2 separate regions of the Homo sapiens genome follow, and region 1 is linked to region 2. Evidence: promoter capture Hi-C in 16 types of primary human blood cells and fetal thymus (Javierre and others, 2016). All regions are on one chromosome and are shown on one strand. The core of a region is centred on a gene start or on the middle of the fragment in contact, and the rest is flanking DNA. Distances in the headings are between cores, read along the strand shown. Region 1 has its middle 320 kb from the start of ARAP2. Region 2 holds the start of PCDH7 (protocadherin 7).

Region 1 (2,700 bases), core at 141-2,640, 5.2 Mb after region 2:
TAACATTAGTAAAAATGACTTCAGTAGAAGGGAGATGGAAGAAATAAATATGAGGCTTCATTAGCTCAATGAAAAATGGCCAGAACTTGCAGAAGAAAACAATGATTTGAGAAAGTGAAACTCATAATATTTGGCCCTTATTATAATTTTCTTCTATTCATATTTAGTTTTATTTAAGCCCATAATCAAGAAAAGAAAGACTTTCCTTGAAATTTGAAACTGGAATCAGAATGGTAAGATTCTATTCCCAAGTATTACAACTGTGTACAGCCTTTGCATCTCTTTAAAATTTTGATTGAACTTTATCATCATCTTTTAGTAGACAAATGTAGGTTATAAGAAGTACATATTTAGAATTTTATGCAATTTTTTTGCAAATGAGATACCTTTGAGTTCCAGCTCTATGAATGAAATATAAATTCTTAGTCAAATAAATTGTTCCATTCCATCCTGAGCAATACAATGAGATACTCAGACTTAAAAAAAAAAAAATTCCTGAGCCTAGATGTATATCAGAATAACCTGGCTAACCTTTAAAAAATACAGCTTCTTGGGCCTCACTCCAGGTTTGTTGAATAGCAGTAACCCACAAGAAATACCTAGAATCTATATTTTTCAAAAGCTCCCATAGAGAATCTCATGCAGTTATTCCTTGCCTGCAGACTTGTTTTTGAGACCCAATGGTTAAGCTATACTCACAAAGAAAGAAAAGCTATTATTTACTGAGCATCTACTACCAGGTACTAACTAGATGCTTCAAAATGCTATCATAATGATTCTTCTTAATGCAGGGACACTGTAGTGTACTGAATAGTGTCCCGCAATATTCTTATCCAACCAGACCCTTACAATGTAACCATTTTTGGAAATAAGGTATTTGCAGATGTAATTAAAATGAGATTACACTAGATGAGGATGGACGCTAAATCTAATGACTGGTGTAAGCATCAGAAGAGGAGAGGGCACACATACATATAAAAAAAGGAGACAGACGGAGAGAAGAAAGCCATGAGAAGACGAAGGCAGAGACTGGAGTGATGCAGCTACAAGCCGAGGAACGCCAAGGACTGCCCAGAGCCACTGGAAGCTAGAGGAGGCAAGGAGAGAGCCTTCAGAGGGAACATGGTCCTGCTGACACATTGATTTCAGACTTCTAGCCTCCAGAACTGGGAAAGAGTACACTTCTCTTGTTTCAAGTCCACCCAATTTGTGGAAGTTTGTAATGGCAACCCTAGGAAACTAATACAGACAAAGAGACTCAGAGAAGTTCAGCAATCCGCCTGAGTTATTCAGATAGAAGGTGATGAAGCAGGGTTTCAAACTCTGGCCCCATTGATTCCAAAGCACATGGACTAAAACAACACTGGCAGAGTTCAATAGACCAAGATTCAAGCAGCATTTAGTCAAAGTGGGGTTCCTAGATGGCCTAGAGATCACCTGGGGACCTTGTTAAAAATGCGTGTACCTTGATACTACCTGGAATTACTCCATAAAAAAGTTTTGCAAGCTGGACCTAAGAACCTACTTTTAACAGGTATCTCAGAAAATCGTCACTCATATTAAAGTTTGACATCACTGACTAGAGAGTTGGCAATCTTTAACGTGACATTTTTTGCTTTTCATTAAAGTATATCCTGAACATATGAAACAAATAAGTAAAATGACAAATGTTATTAGAGAAATTAATGTGATGAAGTCAACATGTACTTTACTTCAAACCTTTTTTATGTAAAACCAGGATACTAAGGAAAATGTACATAACTAACATTCATACTTCCCCCATATATGAAGCTGATCATGTTCCATTCTTTCCCAAACCTTGAAGAAGATAAGCAGATATTACACTTATTTGTATATCATAGGAGAGGAGGCTAAGATTGGAGCCTTAGAGAAATTTACAAATCACTCTCCTGTGGTTTATTGCTAGAGCATGACATTTTTTTCTGTCCATACATTGGAAAAAATTTAGTTGGGAATTAAATGAAAATAACATGGGTGGGAGAAGTGTATCTCACTTATTTTCACAGGAAAGCGGAGAGAAAGATAACAGGAAAAGGATATGTTGTTTTTTAAAGCCATGGAAAGAAAAGTAGAAAACAAGTGTGTGAGAAGCCAAAGAGAAGAACTCTATGTTAAAGAGAACTTCAAAAAGCCCTAGAGAGCATAGAAACTCAGGCTATCGGATGTGATCAATTTTTATCAGAGCATACTCAAAAGTTATTCATTAGTTTCTAAACCTTCATATATATTTAGACTGTGATTTTCTTGGAGATTTCACTCTATTAACAACATTAACTGGACTAAGAAGAACAAATGAACTGAAGAATTTATATTCTCCATCTAGACGATGAAGAAAAAGAAAAGTGACGATTCTTCTCTGAAGTAGCCTCTTGTACTCAGCTTTTCTCTCACAAAAGTATTATTTCTATCTGTTGACCCTGAAGATGCAGTTAAAAATGTTTTCTTTTCAATCAAAAGGCTTCTTCTAGGGCAATTGTGTGTGTGTATGGTATGACTTGTCTTTTTCTTAAAGCACATCATAGCTGTTTAAAAGTTGTGTTTGTGTGCATGTGTATGTGTGTGTATTTGGCTTTCTCAATTTGCTTTCGGAAAATGTAAACTAGAAGGAAATATTTTTTAAAAAGCAGTTACCAAAAAACTTTAACAGAAAGGAAAAGTAGGAAAAGAGTGGGACAGAAA
Region 2 (2,700 bases), core at 3-2,502:
ACCGCCGCCCCTGCCCCCCGCAACCATCCAAAGTCTGAGCTCCCAAAAAAGGATCTTTCTCCAGCTCTCTGGAGTTTGATGTTCTCTCTTCACTACTGCAGCCCGTCATGGTTTTTCAGAACAGAGTGGCTTTCTGGGCGCTCGTAGGTTCCCCAGGACCCCGATAACCATGTCCTAACCAAGATCCTAAATCGCGAACCGGAGACACTTTCCGGGGGGAGGAGGACGTCGTCTGAGAGGGAGGGAGAAGGAGAAACCTATCCTGACACCAGCTCCGAAAGCTCTCACGCGTGAACTGGGCATTAGTCAAGGGAGGAGGAAATTTACCAGCCCGAGGGAGGGAAAACAAGTCCCCCAGAGAAGACGGCGGTACTCGCTAGGGAGGGGGACTGGGCTTTGGCTTAAAGAGGACTGGCTGGGATTGGGCACACTTTGAGCGGCCCCTGGAGCTGAGGCTGGGCTTTCCCGAGCGCGGCGGCTGGCTGACGCTCCCTCCCGCCTCCTTATCCCGGGCCCTCCTCCCTCGCTCTCTCCTAGTGTGTAGTTTCGGCGGCTCGGCTGCTACTGCCGCCGCCGCTGCAGCAGCAGCGTCAGGGACAAGCCTGATCCGTGAGCGAGCGAGCACCCAGCAGCAACCACCACTTTGGGCAACTTGCGGGTTTCCTGCTCGCGGGTAGCGAACGGGAGATTCCCACTAGCGGTTCAGTGTCTCCGAGCCGCTGCAGCCCGAGGGGCGGCGGGAGCGCCCGCACCAGACTCTCCCAGACGCGAAAAGGGACGAGACAACTGCGGAATTCACCAGCCGTGCCAGGGCACTTCCGAGGCCACAACCGACTGACACTTTTTCTCCCCTTGGCAAACTGGATTTTTTTTTTTAAGCTACTTGGCAGCTGTCTCTGACTCCACCTCCCCCTCCACCCCCGCCCGAAAGCCTTTGGCTTTTCTTCGGAAATCCAGACAGAATTGGGCATCTTTGTTAATTGCCGTTGGGGACGCCCGGCCGTGCGCTTTCGCCGGCTAACGTCGCCTGTGCTCCGAGCCTGGTTTGCTCACCTTTGAACTGCAAAGGGATCAAGTTCAGCTTGAGTTCCCTGCATTGGGAAGGAGAGAGAGCGTGCAAGAGAGCGAGTGGGAGAGGGGGAAAGGGGAAAGGAGAGGAGGGAGGAGAGAGAGGAGGGAGGAGAGAGAAAGGGAGGGAGGGAGGGGAGGGATCGAGAGAGAGCGGGGAGAGAGAGGCTGCAATCTCCTCCCTGAATCGCGCACAGCGCTGCAGATCCCACTGCTCCGACATGCGGGCCGAATGCAGGTGAGAAAAGGCACGGACTCTGCGGCTGCGAACCCAAACTTGGGCACCGCACGGTGCGCACTGCTCAGCCTTCGCCCCCGTGGGCGAAAGGCTGCTGCGGTTTCAGGCGGCTGCTTCGTGACTAATGACCTTGCGCAGAGTTGTTAAGAAAAAAGAGAAACCCGCGCTCTCCGGGGTGAGAAGGGACTGACTCTGGGCGTCTCTGAAGATGGCTCGGGCTTCTCTTTGGCGCGCCGGGGGGACCCTGACACTGACCGCTCTGTGACGCGAGTAGTCTCCCCTGCACCGTGCCCGAAGCGACGTGCCGGGGGATTTTTCATTCTCGATCTGTTGACTGGCTCCCCCGCTGCATGAGCAGAGTCGGAGTTGAGACTGGCTTGTTGCTGGCCCCAGCGCCTGGTGCAGGAAGCGACTCACGTTTGTCTGGGTGGCCGGAGCCGGAGCAGAGCCTGGGTTTGGAGTGAGTGCCTGGAACGTGAATTGGACTCAACTCGAGTAGCAGCAAAGACCAGCGGGCTGGCAGGCGGGGGAGGCTGCAGGCTCATTCCCCACCTCTTCCCAGCCCCACTGCCCGTCTGCCGGAGCGGTTCTGGCCCCTTCCGACAGAGCGGGGACTAGAGCCGGGGATTCTCCGCCCGCTGAGGGGATGACTCTGGGTTGGGGGAGCGCCGAACCCGCGGCGCGCAGTGTCCCGTGAACTGTGAGTACTGCGACTGAACGGCGGCAGGCGAGCGGGCGATTAGCACCCATTGCATGAATTATGAAACAATAACTTTCGGAAGAAGCAGGAGGAAAAAAAGAAGCATCTATCGCTGCCCTCCCACCCCCATTCCCGGCCAACTCTCCACGCCGCTTTTGCCCCCTCCCTCCCCTCCCTCTCGCTCCTTCCTTTCCGGGAGAGGGGAGAGGACTCGGGGGAGGGCAGGCGGCCGGCCCCGGAGGAGGGGGGCGCCGAGGGGGCTGTGGTTAGAAGGAGCAGTAGCAGCAGCAGCAGGAGAAGATGCTGAGGATGCGGACCGCGGGATGGGCGCGCGGCTGGTGCTTGGGCTGCTGCCTCCTCCTGCCGCTCTCGCTCAGCCTGGCGGCCGCCAAGCAGCTCCTCCGGTACCGGCTGGCCGAGGAGGGCCCCGCCGACGTCCGCATCGGCAACGTGGCTTCAGACCTGGGCATCGTGACCGGATCGGGTGAGGTGACTTTCAGCCTGGAGTCCGGTTCCGAGTACCTGAAGATCGACAACCTCACTGGCGAGCTGAGCACGAGCGAGCGGCGCATCGACCGCGAGAAGCTGCCCCAGTGTCAGATGATCTTCGACGAGAACGAGTGCTTCCTGGACTTCGAGGTGTCGGTGATCGGGCCCTCGCAGAGCTGGGTGGACCTGTTTGAGGGTCAGGTCA

Evidence for each region. Contacts are between HindIII fragments. The CHiCAGO score rates a contact against its expected background, and 5 or more counts as called.
Region 1: a fragment that was not itself captured here is called in contact with the fragment with the promoter of PCDH7 in region 2 in 1 of 17 cell types (M2 macrophages); the score reaches 5.3 in M2 macrophages.

What each region holds. Positions count from the first base shown.
Region 1 is chr4:35,927,220-35,929,919 of GRCh38, forward strand. No RefSeq gene overlaps it. Among named protein-coding and RNA genes, the nearest start is that of ARAP2, 320 kb to the right of the region's middle. The HindIII fragment of the contact is 5,644 bases long and covers 1-2,700 here.
Region 2 is chr4:30,719,117-30,721,816 of GRCh38, forward strand. It overlaps PCDH7 (protocadherin 7), which reads left to right and starts at 1,253. Exons shown (of 3, transcript NM_001173523.2): 1 at 1,253-2,700. The coding sequence starts at 2,307. LOC124900844 reads right to left here and starts at 5. Exons shown (of 1, transcript XM_047416545.1): 1 at 1-5. RefSeq lists an enhancer at 2,062-2,700. The HindIII fragment of the contact is 9,617 bases long and covers 1-2,700 here.